4 separate regions of the Homo sapiens genome follow, and all the other regions are linked to region 4. The links are contacts of gene promoters, found by promoter capture Hi-C in blood cells and fetal thymus (Javierre and others, 2016). All regions are on one chromosome and are shown on one strand. The core of a region is centred on a gene start or on the middle of the fragment in contact, and the rest is flanking DNA. Distances in the headings are between cores, read along the strand shown. Region 1 has its middle 2.0 kb from the start of C2CD4D-AS1. Region 2 overlaps THEM4 (thioesterase superfamily member 4). Region 3 overlaps SNX27 (sorting nexin 27). Region 4 holds the start of MRPL9 (mitochondrial ribosomal protein L9).

Region 1 (2,847 bases), core at 321-2,820, 73 kb before region 4:
AAGCTTGAAGGAGCATCAGAATAACCAGACATCAGAAATCCTGGAAGAGCTTTTTAAATATGCAGGGTCCTGGGCTCCATCCCTATGAGATGCTCCTTCAGTAGATCTGGGCCAAGTAGGTCCTAAGGTCCCCGGCCAACAAGGCCCCCGAACAATCAGGGAGCCCTGCAATCACTGAGTCACTCTGACAGAAACCAACACAAGCCACCTTCCACTTGAGGCTGCACAGAGGAAATTAACACTCCCTTCCTGTGCCCCTCTAAAACCCACATCTGTCCTGAAGACAGATGAAATTTCTGGCTCTTGAGAGTGAGTCAGGGGATGTCAGATGAACACAGAGTGCCCTTTAGTCTTCCTTCTTCCCTCTTGCCTCTTCCACACCTGTGCGTCCCTTGAGGGGTGGGGCAAGTCTGGAGCCAAGAACCAGAGAGGTGCTTGGGTACCAAATGAATGAGATATAATGTCCCAGGGATTGAAAGGGGGGAGGTGGGGTACTACCAAAGTGTGAGAACTGTTCTCAGGAATGCCAGAAGAGCCTCCTCCAGCCAGAAGGAGGTGGGGGTGGGGGGAGGTGGATAATTGTAGGTCACATTGTGTTTACCTCTACCTGAATGTCCCTGACGTCAGCAGTGACCTTCTTCTCTCTCCCTCCACCTTCCCAGGAGCCGGTTCCTCTGGACTCAGGCCAGGCTTGGAGGAGGGAGGGAGGAAGTGAGGTAGGCACTAGGCTAACCCAACTTCTTTCTCCCTCTCCCTTGGGCCCTTTCTCATTTTTCATGGTGCCAGCTGTGGCCTGCACCAGGGCTAAGCTTGCGGGATCTGACAAAACCTCAAAAGCCTCAGCACCTGGACACGTTAAATTCCAACACACACACACACACACACACACACACACACACACAGAGACACACACACAGAGACACACACACACACACACACACACACACACACACACACACGGCTTCATTCAGACAGCTCTCCAGTTCCTTCTCCCTTCCCTGATTGGGTCCGCACCACCCAGCCCTAGGCCAGAGAACTCTTGCTCCAGGTGTCCACCAGGTGGTGGCATTGACCAAACAATCCTAAGTGCTAACTACTACACATGGATTATAACCACATGAGGAACTGTTCCAACAATTAGTCAAGCCATTTATTCCTCCCAGCACCTTCTATTAGGGTGTAAATACTATTATTATCCAATGGGATCTTGGGCCTCGCATAGCTAGTAAAGGGAAGAACTAGGACTCACATAGCTAGTAAAGGGAAGAATTCAGGGAGTCTGGCTCCAGAGTGTGGACTCTTAATCACTTCAAGATAATACCCCCCACTGCCAGCTGCTGCCTCCCAATCAAGTCACTCTAAAAGGGGCCTCCTTCCCTAAGATGGTAGCTCTGCAAAGGTTTCGTACCCTGCCAGTTTAAAATCCCATGTTTGAATTCTGGGAAGTCTACCTATAGATTTAGGTCTACCCCTAGTACTGGATTTCTATTTCAGCCCCCAAATTCTCCCATAACAACCCTTGGTGAGAAACTGGATTTGATGCCCATTTGAAAGTATCTGGAAAGAAAGTTAGAGGCCGTAGAACCTTCATTCATGCATTCCTTCAACAAATACTTCGGGAAGGTCCATCAGGTGGCAGGCATTGGATACAGCAGTGATTAAACAGACATGGGGATCAGAAAAGTGATAAAATAAGCCATTAAAATGTAAAGAATGCTACTTGGTGATATGTTACAGAGAAAAATAAAGCAAGAAAGGGAATAGAAAAGAGGGGTCAGATAAAGAGAAGGGAAGATTATAGGGACAGAAAGAGGGAGGGAGGAGAGGAAACTTTTTTTTTTTAACCATAGTACTTTGGACCAGGTCCTGAACTTTATCTGTGTTATCTCAGTTGATCATCACAACCACTCAGTAGAGTAGATATTAGTATTCCTCTTTTTTGGGGTGGGGGGACGGAGTCTCACTCTGTTGCCCAGGCTGGAGTGCGGTGGTGCGATCTCGTCTCACTGCAATCTCCACCTCCCAGGTTCAAGTGATTCTCCTGCCTCAGCCTCCCGAGTAGCTGCCACTACAGGCGCGTGCCACCACACCCGCTGGTTTTTTGTATTTTTAGTAGAGACGGGGTTTCACCGTGTTAGCCAGGATGGTCTCGATCTCCTGATTTGGTCTCATGATCTCGGTCTCGGTCTCATGATCCACCCACCTCGGCCTCCCAAAGTGCTGGGATTACAGGCGTAAGCCACCGCGTCACAACCACTCAGGAGAGTAGGTATTATTATTCCCACTTTACAAAGAAAGAAATGGATCAGATAGATAGGTTAAGTAAGCTTGCCTGGGGAACAGCCCTGGCTGGAGGGAAAGGTTCTGACCTGACTCCACCCAGACACCCCCACTGCCACCCCAACTGCTTAGGGGAAGCTGTGAGGAAATCCAAGGCCACTCCTCCCAGGAGCAGTTCACTCAGCATTCACAGCCCTGAGGCTCTGTGATGGGGGCCCTAGCATTGCTGGAGGAACATCCTGGGTAGCTAAAGTACAGAAACATGGGAGTGAGGAGGTCCTAAGAAACCCTCCAGTGTGCAGATTGCTCTGGCCCCAAAGCACTTCTATAAACACTAGTCAGAGGCCAGGTGTGGTGGCTCATGACTGTAATCCTAACACTTTGATAAGTGGATAAATGTGGGAGGCTGAGGCGGGCAGATTACCTGAGCTCAGGAGTTTGAGACCAGCCTGGGCAACATGGTGAAACCCCATCTCTACAAAAAATGCAAAAATTAGTTGCATGTGGTGGCATGCACTTGTAGTCCCAACTACTTGGGGGGCTGAAGCAGGAGGACCTCTTGAACCC
Region 2 (3,049 bases), core at 11-2,510, 120 kb before region 4:
CTAGAAACTCAAAAGCTGTGGAATGTCATTTCTTTCTCTCCATTTTCCTATTATAACTACCCCGCCTTGTGGGCAGTCTATATAGAAAGGTTTCTTTGATACCTGACTGATGTAAGAACAAGAGGGGTAAATGTGAATTCTTATGGATAGATAACACAGGAGTTACTTCTAAATATCACTCCACTGCAAGAATTTAAAAGAAAGCTTTAAAAATACACTCAATAGTTTTCTTGAAAAGGGAAAATGACAATCCCTAGGCTTCTGGGTTTTGTTTGCTTTTTAGAGTTTCGATTGCTTTTCATTCTGTATTTTTTTTAATCAGAAGCTCACATCACTTTAATAATCTTGTGGCACTGTGTTTCTAATTTGTAGCCAACACATTCTGGAAGCTTCTTCCTTCCTTCCTTTATTTATTTATTTATTTATTTATTTATTTATTATTTTGAGACAGAGTCTCACTCTGCCACCCAGGCTGGAGTGCAGTGGCGCAATCTCAGCTCACTGCAACCTCTACCTCCTGGGTTCAAGTGATTCTCCTGCTTTAGCCTCCCAAGTAGCTGGGATTACAGGCATAGGCCACCATACCCGGCTAATTTTTGTATTTTTAGTAGAGACGAGGTTTCACCATGTTGGCCAGGCTGGTCTCAAACTCCTGACCTCAGGTGATCCACCCACCTCAGCCTCCCAAAGTGCTGAGATTACAGGTGTGAGCCATCGTGCCCAGTGCTTGTTCCTTTAAAATGCACAGTTAAGGCCAGGCTACTTGGGAGGCTGAGGCAGGAGAATCGCTTGAACCTGGGAGGTTGCAATGAGCCGAGATCATGCCACTGCACTCCAGCCTGGGCAACAGAGTGAGACTCCATCTCAAAAAAAAAAAAATGCACAATTAAATCCTTTATTTTCACTAACAATTTAGTTAGACATTTTATAATTCTGATATGGTTTGGCTTTGTGTCGCCACCCAAATCTCATCTAGAATTGTAATCCCCATGTGTCAAGGGAGGGACCTGGTGAGAGGTGACTGGATCATGGGGGCAGTTTCCCCCATGCTGTTCTAGTGATAGTGAGTTCTTATGAAATCTGATGGTTTAAAAGTGTTTGGCAGGCTGGGCACCGTGGCTCACGCCTGTAATCCCAGCATTTTGGGAGGCCAAGGTGAGTGGATCACCTGAGATCAGGAGTTCAAGGCCAGCCTGACCAACATGGTGAAACCCCATCTCTACTGAAAATGCAAAAAAAAATTAGCTGGGCATGGTGGTGTATGCCTATAATCCCAGCTACTCAGGAGGCTGAGGCAGGAGAATTGCTTGAACCTGAGAGTTGCAGTGAGCCGAGATTGCGCCAGTGCACTCCAGCCTGGGCAACAGAGCAAGACTCCATCTCGAAAATAAATAAATAAATAAATAAATAAATAAATAAATAAAAGCATTTGACAGATCCCCCCTTGCACTCTCTCTCTCTCTCTCTCCTGCCACCATGTAAGACGTGCCTTGCTTCCCCTTCCCCTTTCCCTTCACCTTTGCCGTGATTGTAAGTCTCTTGAAGCCTCCCCAGCCATGCAGAACTGTGAGTCAATTAAACCTCTTTTCTTTATAAATTACCCAGTCTCAGGTAGTTCTTTATAGTAGCATGAAAATAAACTAATGCAAACTCTCATGATTTTTATAATCTCACAGCCCAGTAAACCTTCAAATCATTTCTCCCTACAAGTTATTTTCCCCTTCCATTGAAATTTAATCAAGAGTTCATTTGTCAGATCCATATGCTCGGTGATGGTGGTGGTGGTTGTATTACTAAAAACACTAAATTAGTCACCAGCTCCATTGTTCTAGTGCGGTGTTGAGATATATCCCATAAATACATCAACATGCCCACCTCAACTAAGTCATTTGGCAGATAAAACAAGCTCAAATGCAAAATGGGAAGTAGAACTTTGAATCAGACTGTTGGGGATTTGAATCCCATGTGTGCCACCAAATAGCCATACAGCTTTAGCAAATTACCTAACCTCTCTGGGCCTCAGTTTCCTCATCCATTAACCAAAGACAATAATACTTTTCTTAAAGAGATATTTTGAGGATCACAGTTAATGTATTCAGAGCTAGCAGCTTAATATGTTAAATGAAGCTTTTTTTTTTTTTTTTTTGAGATGGAGTCTCTCTGTCACCCAGGCTGGAGTCAGTGGTGCAATCTTGGCTCATTCCAACCTCCGCCTCCTGCGTTCAAGCGATTCTCCTGCCTCAGCCTCCTGAGTCGCTGACATTACAGGCACATGCCACCATGCCCGGCTAATTTCTGTATTTTTAGTAAACATGGGTTTTTGCCATGTTGGTCATGCTGGTCTTGAACTCCTGGCCTCATGATCCATCCGCCTCGGCCTCCCAAAGTGCTGGGATTACAGGCGTGAGCCACCATGCCCGGCCTAAATGAAGCTTTTTAATTATTATTTTCAGATCTATGTTTAGCAGAGAGAGAGAGAAAAAAAAAATTACCCTGAATCCAGCACAGAGAAAAAAGGAAATGGGAAATATAGAGAGCATAAGCTATAGTGGACAAATAAAAAGATCTAACATGCTCTAATTAGAGTCCTAGAAAAATAGAATAAAGAGAATTGAAGAGATCCAGTATTTAAGGAAATAATGGGTCAGCATATTCAAGAGCTAAAGAAAATCATGAATTGACAATATAGAAAGCAATCTATATCAAGCTAGGTTTTAAAAGTATATCTAGAGACATTATAGAGAAATTGGAGAATACTTAAGACAAAGAGATCTTAAAAGCAGAGCTAAGATAGAGCAGCCATTACAAAGCAGTCTTGCTTTTTAGAAGCAAGAGGGCACCATTACACTGGCAGTAAACCTCTCAATAGCAACAGTAGAAGCCAGAAGACAATAAAACATCTGCCAAAAGAAAATGTCGATCTAAAATCATGCTCTCAGCAAAGCTAAAGTTCAAAAATGAGCGCAAAATGAAGGTGCTGTCATTCAAACAAATGGAGAGAATTTATGGAACAGCAGGACAACACCCAGGGAGCTCCTAAATGGTGGAC
Region 3 (2,769 bases), core at 178-2,677, 120 kb after region 4:
TTGATTTGAAAAGTACAATTAGTGGGCTGGGCGCAGTGTCTCATACCTGTAATCCCAGCACTTTGGGAGGCTGAGGCAGGTGGATTACCTGAGGTCAGGAGTTCGAGACTAGCCTGGCCAACATGGTGAAACACCATCTCTACTAAAAATACAAAACTTAGCAGGGCATGGTGGTGCGCACCTGTAATCCCAGCTACTTGGGAGGCTGAGGCAGAATTGTTTGAACCCGGGAGGCAGAGATTGCAGTGAGCCAAGATCACACCACTGTACCCCAGGCTGGGGGACAGAGTGAGACTTCGTCTTAAAAAATATATATAATAAAAATAAAAATAAACAAAGGTACAATTGGTAGTATTATTCCTTTTCTCAGGTTTCCAAGGTTTTAGGTAATTCCCAAAAGGTCTCAACATCCAGACTGCTCTACTTTTAGGATGTGACCTTGATTTCAACTTCTTACATGCCTTATGACTCAAAGTTAGCACTTAGGAAGCATAAAACTCTAAATTCTGTGTGTGGTTCTAAGACTACAGAAGTCCATGCTGAAATAAAACCTATATGCCATTATCTACAGCTAATTACAGATGCAACCAAGCATTATTTGATCCTCTGCAACTCTTTTAGCTTCCTTGCTTTTCTTATCTCTTCACTAAAAAGAATTTACCATAAATGTTTAGTAGCTCGTTCCTATGCAGAGGATAAATCTCAGTTTTAGAGACTGTAACTTTAGTCAACTGTTAAGCTTTAAAACCTGTAGTCTGTTTGCCAGCATCTAACAGAACCCACTGCATTTTCTACTAAGAATAATGAACATTTCTCATTATATCAACACTCCACAAATAATTAAAGGCAAATAAAGCATATTGCAACCAAAAGAAAAATTAAGTAGACTGAGCTATCAGTGGCAATTAGGCTCTGAAGAACAAAGGCATTCAGCAAAGGGGCTAGCACACATCACTAAAAATTCAAGATGGGCTTTCCTGCATAGCTACAACAGCAACAGATTAGAAATGTGTGAAACAGCTCATGGGAATTGCATTCAGGAAACTCGTGGGAAAAACCACAGTTAATCATTCACACGGATATCTCCAAAGAAAATGAAAAAGAACATGATGTGGAAAGAAGAGTAGAGACATCTAAGTTCTGAAATGGGTGAACCTCTCTATTACCCAAATATCTTGAAGGACACCATCCTTTTACATTAATCTTGCCCTATAGCACCACAGAATCAACAGTAAATAAGATACTATTAGCAAAGAGATACGGCAACCAACAAAAGAACAAACAAAAAAGAAACTAAACAAAAACTCACACGTTTACGACAAACCAGAATGCAAACTTGAAACTATCTAAAAATAAAATGGAATTATACTCAAGCTGAGTAGGACTCTTTTCCACTACTGTAATTCACCCCCTGCAATAAATCAGGGTCAGTGTCTTTTATTTATGTGTGAACTCATCCTCCTGGTAGACAAACTGACCTAGGTTGCAGCCTTTTATCTACCACTATAATAGTTTCATAATTATAAGACTAGGGGAAACAAAGCTAGATGTTCGAGGATCGAGTTGGGCTGACACTCACCACAAACTTCTCACCATTCTGCTCCACATGTTTGTATCTGGGGACCGATATGGGCACTGCTTGCTTTTCTGTGTAATCATAAAATGATTGTCCCAACGAGTCGTCACTGGGATCTAGGTTATCTGCCTCATGAGGAGGTACAGATAACACTGTCAAGATCAATTCCTTCTCGCCTGCTCGAATCAGGTCCACCACCTGCTTGTGTGTCGCCCCCTCAACATTCACGTGGTTCCTAAGGGGAAAAAGGGAAAAAGACAATCCCATAAACCAGAAGGGTCCAAACACCTTGTATCTCCACCCTCCTGCCCAAACTCCAGTGTCACACGGTATGAACCATGAAGTCAAAAGATTAATTTGGTTCCAGAAAAGTTGTTTATGTTTTAACAGTTTCTAATGTGAAAAACTTTGTGAACTTATGGCGGGGGGAAAAATGGAAAGAGGTGAGAAGACCTCCCCTTCCTCTATACTAATATCCCACACATAGCTTCAGGAACGCACATGGAAAGAGGCTGAAGCTGAGGAGGAAACAAAGCTTTTTCAGTCAAACAATCCAATTTCCTCATTCTAACTAAGCATGTATACAATTCAATCAAAGTGGCTTTTGACAGCCCTGCCACTTGAATTGTACTTTGTCCTTTTTAAACCTCAAAGGAATTCTGTTAAAAGAACCTTCACAAAATAAATTCTCTTAATTTGTAAATAGAGACTCAAAAAAAGTTATGACTGAAGATAATTCCTTTACATTTACATCCAATTTCTCTCCATATCTCAAATCAGTCAACTTAATTTTCCTTTATGCCAAGTTTCATTACTTTGGGAGCTAAATGGTATTACTCTTCACATACACTAGTTTCCAATTCAATTAACCTCTTGGGATTCCATCAACTTTTTTCCTGCTCTATGCTATCTCATTTAGAGTCCTGTGTAATCAGTCCAAACTAAAAAATATACACCTATAATTATATGGTCAGCCTACTAATTTTCCTTCCTGTTTTGCTGTGTACAAAAGGCTGAAATAAGGCAAACAAAGTACAAGGTTTAGATGAAGTATTTTGTCAAGAAAGATGCTGAGTCTCACAAGACTCCCTCAGCAAACCAAACTACCTTCCAGAATGCTGATCCAGCTGCTCTCTCAGCAAAAACCACTGGGCAGCAGGCCTGGAGGTTCCCTCCCATGGCTATCCCAAGAG
Region 4 (3,000 bases), core at 361-2,860:
TTGAGTAAAGGAGGAAGTCATTACAAAGTTTTGGGTGGAAGAATGACATGATCTGACTTATGCTTTAAAAAGATCATTCTGGCTGCTATAAATAAGCTACATAGAATTATAAACTGTAGAGAATTAAGGGATATCTTTTAGGGGACTATTGCAGTAATCCAGGAGAAAGTAGTGTCTTATTCCAAGGTAGAGCATTGGAGGTGGTGACAAGTGGCTGGATTCTGGAAATACAAGTGCTCCTTGACTTAAAATAGGGTTATGTCCTGATAAACCCATCGTATGTTGAAAGTATCATAAGTTGAAAATGCATATAATACACCTACCAAACACCATAGCTTAGCCTAGCCTATCTTAAACATGCTCAGACAACTTATCCGACAGTTGGGTAAAATCATCTAACACAAAGCCTATTTTATAATAAAGTGTTGAATATTTCATGTAACTTATTGATGTCCTACTGAGTGCACATCACTTTCACACCATCACAAACTCAAAAATTGTAAATCCAAGTCAGGGACTATCTGTAATTTAAAGGTAGAACCCACAGGATTTCCTGATGGAGTATGAGAGAAAAGAGTTAGAATGGAAAGAATGGAGTTTCTGTCAACTGAGAGGAAAAAGGCTGCAGATGGGGCAGTTTTGGGGGCGAGGGGGGAATAAATAAATTAGTTTGGGACAGTTAACTTTGAGGTGTCCTTTGGATACGTAAGAGGAAAATGACGAATAAACAGTTGAATATTTGAGACGAGTTTGGGAGATGTCTAGGATGGAACTAGAAATTTGGGAGTCATTGGCTTATAAATGGTATTGTAAGCCACGAGACTGGATGAGATCAACAGTGAGTGTATACTGAGAAGAGTAAAGGTTCAAAAACGGAGTCCCGAGGGCATTCTAAGAAGCGGGGAGAAAAGGAGAAATCAGCAAACGAGACTGAAGAAGACCGGTGTCCAGGAGGCCAAGTAGTGTATTTAGGAGGAAGGAGGACTGGTCAGTATGTTTAAGGGCCAGTCTTTCCATAATCTCTGCCAAATGGACCTTCTTTCATCCAGTTTTTATGGTCTTCTGTCCAGTACTGAGACCCTCCCCAGAGGGAACTGTCGCGGCCTTACCATAGTTGCTTTTTTTTCTACGGTTTACATAGCTTGTGATTTAGAATTCTCCTTTATTAGCTTAAATACTGCAGTATAATGATTAAGGGTCAGGCTCCTCCTGGAGCTGGCAGAGTTTTCCAAGGGATCCCATCCTTTACCACTTTTAGGTAGATTTGAAGTAAGGAAAAGTGAGAGCATCATTCATTCTCCGGTCAGTATCCAGTCATCACAGAACGTTAGAATTAAAAGTTAGCCCAGCAACTGGAGCTACAGCAAAGCCCACACTTTCAAGAGGAAGAGCGTCTTTTCCGGCGTCAGTCCACCTAACACTCATTCCATTATCAGTCAGTAATTCTAGGCGTCCGTCACCTCTGCCAAAAAGCAAAAATAGGCAAGCCGCGGTGCCATCTGTTCCCCGGCCCGCTCCCCATACTTTCGCTCAGCCGTACCGGCGCGCCGCAGGCAGCACTGGCGGGGGCCTTTCCTGCCGCCGACGCCGGGGTCCTCCCTCAGGTCTCATTCTGTGCCTGTGAACATGGCGGCGCCCGTTGTCACGGCCCCGGGCAGAGCTCTGCTGCGGGCGGGCGCTGGACGGCTGCTTCGGGGAGGCGTCCAGGAGCTACTGCGGCCGCGACATGAAGGGAACGCCCCTGACCTGGCCTGCAACTTCAGCCTTTCTCAAAATCGGGTGAGGGCTGAGTCTGGGGTAGGGGGTAGATACGCTCGAGTATTGTTTCTGGAGGCGCACTGGGACCTGGAGGGGGCCGATGTGGGGGTGGCGGGCTTTCCTTGAGGGGCTGGCGGCCGTGGTGGAGGGAGAGGGTGTTCCTTGTGGAGACTAGCTTACCGTCGCTTTCCTGGCCGCCAGGGCACGGTCATCGTGGAGCGCTGGTGGAAGGTACCGCTGGCCGGGGAGGGCCGGAAGCCGCGCCTGCACCGGCGACATCGCGTCTATAAGCTGGTGGAGGACACGAAGCATCGGCCCAAAGAAAACCTGGAGCTCATCCTGACGCAGTCGGTGGAGAGTAAGGCCCGGGCCGAGGCGCTTCCTCTCAGGCTGGTCCGGTTTGGCATCAGCTTTTTCTAGCCCGTCCCCCTCAACTATTTGCCTTGCTTTTTCTTTGTGGAAACAATCCAACTCTATATGTGAGAAGAGGAAGCCATAAAAACTATTGTGATTGTGACACTGGCCTCCAGCATTGAAAATTAAAACATAAAGGCAGCAACATCATTAACAGTGTGTGGGGAGAGGAGCCTGACAATTTGTGCCACAGATACTGAAATCCTCCATGGGACGACAACTCCCTCTATACAGGGGATATTAAATTTATACATCAAGTTCTAAAGAAACTAATTAGCAGTCTCTTAAATCTTGTTCCTAGTGAATATGAATTAGCATTTCTTTTAGGAAAAATAAGCACTGTGAGAAACTAAGAGGTGCTTCTCTTTTTGACATCTTTTCTTTAGGGACTCCTAGATGGTTCTAATTCCCCTGTCTCTGTTCTAATTGACAGATGTTGGAGTCCGGGGTGACCTGGTCTCAGTGAAGAAATCTTTAGGCCGGAATCGACTCCTTCCTCAGGGACTGGCTGTATATGCATCCCCTGAAAACAAGAAGCTGTTTGAAGAGGAGAAATTGGTGAGCTCAAAGGAAGGACAGAGAGACTTGGGGAGATAAAACTTCTTTTCTCTTGCAGCTTCCTTCCCTTTGACATTTAACTTAACTTGAAAATGAAATAGGAACTAGAAGAACAGGAATGCAGAAGCCCAGCCAATGTCCAACATAGGAATAGTTTGATGCTATTTAACATGGGCTCATTTTTCTTTTACTGCTTTTCATCTTTAACTTTCTTTTCTAGCTGAGACAAGAAGGAAAATTAGAGAAGATCCAGACCAAGGCAGGTGAGGC

What was found. The method cuts DNA at HindIII sites, captures the fragments that hold promoters and counts their contacts. A CHiCAGO score of 5 or more calls a contact.
Region 1: a contact is called between a fragment that was not itself captured here and the fragment with the promoter of MRPL9 in region 4, in 3 of 17 cell types (M1 macrophages, M2 macrophages and M0 macrophages). The highest score is 7.9, in M1 macrophages.
Region 2: a fragment that was not itself captured here is called in contact with the fragment with the promoter of MRPL9 in region 4 in 1 of 17 cell types (M1 macrophages); the score reaches 5.4 in M1 macrophages.
Region 3: a fragment that was not itself captured here is called in contact with the fragment with the promoter of MRPL9 in region 4 in 1 of 17 cell types (M1 macrophages); the score reaches 5.4 in M1 macrophages.

Annotation. Positions count from the first base shown.
Region 1 is chr1:151,834,834-151,837,680 of GRCh38, reverse strand. No RefSeq gene overlaps it. Among named protein-coding and RNA genes, the nearest start is that of C2CD4D-AS1, 2.0 kb to the left of the region's middle. The HindIII fragment of the contact is 1,518 bases long and covers 812-2,329 here.
Region 2 is chr1:151,881,470-151,884,518 of GRCh38, reverse strand. The region is part of intron 4 of THEM4 (thioesterase superfamily member 4); the gene reads left to right. Among named protein-coding and RNA genes, the nearest start is that of THEM4, 27 kb to the left of the region's middle. The HindIII fragment of the contact is 1,738 bases long and covers 392-2,129 here.
Region 3 is chr1:151,637,930-151,640,698 of GRCh38, reverse strand. It overlaps SNX27 (sorting nexin 27), which reads right to left. Exons shown (of 12, transcript NM_001330723.2): 2 at 1,580-1,811. Among named protein-coding and RNA genes, the nearest start is that of SNX27, 27 kb to the right of the region's middle. The HindIII fragment of the contact is 1,372 bases long and covers 742-2,113 here.
Region 4 is chr1:151,762,106-151,765,105 of GRCh38, reverse strand. It overlaps MRPL9 (mitochondrial ribosomal protein L9), which reads left to right and starts at 1,610. Exons shown (of 7, transcript NM_031420.4): 1 at 1,610-1,779; 2 at 1,960-2,116; 3 at 2,606-2,730; 4 at 2,951-3,000. The coding sequence starts at 1,627. It also overlaps a transcript of OAZ3 not described here. RefSeq lists an enhancer at 1,460-1,839. The HindIII fragment of the contact is 8,401 bases long and covers 1-3,000 here.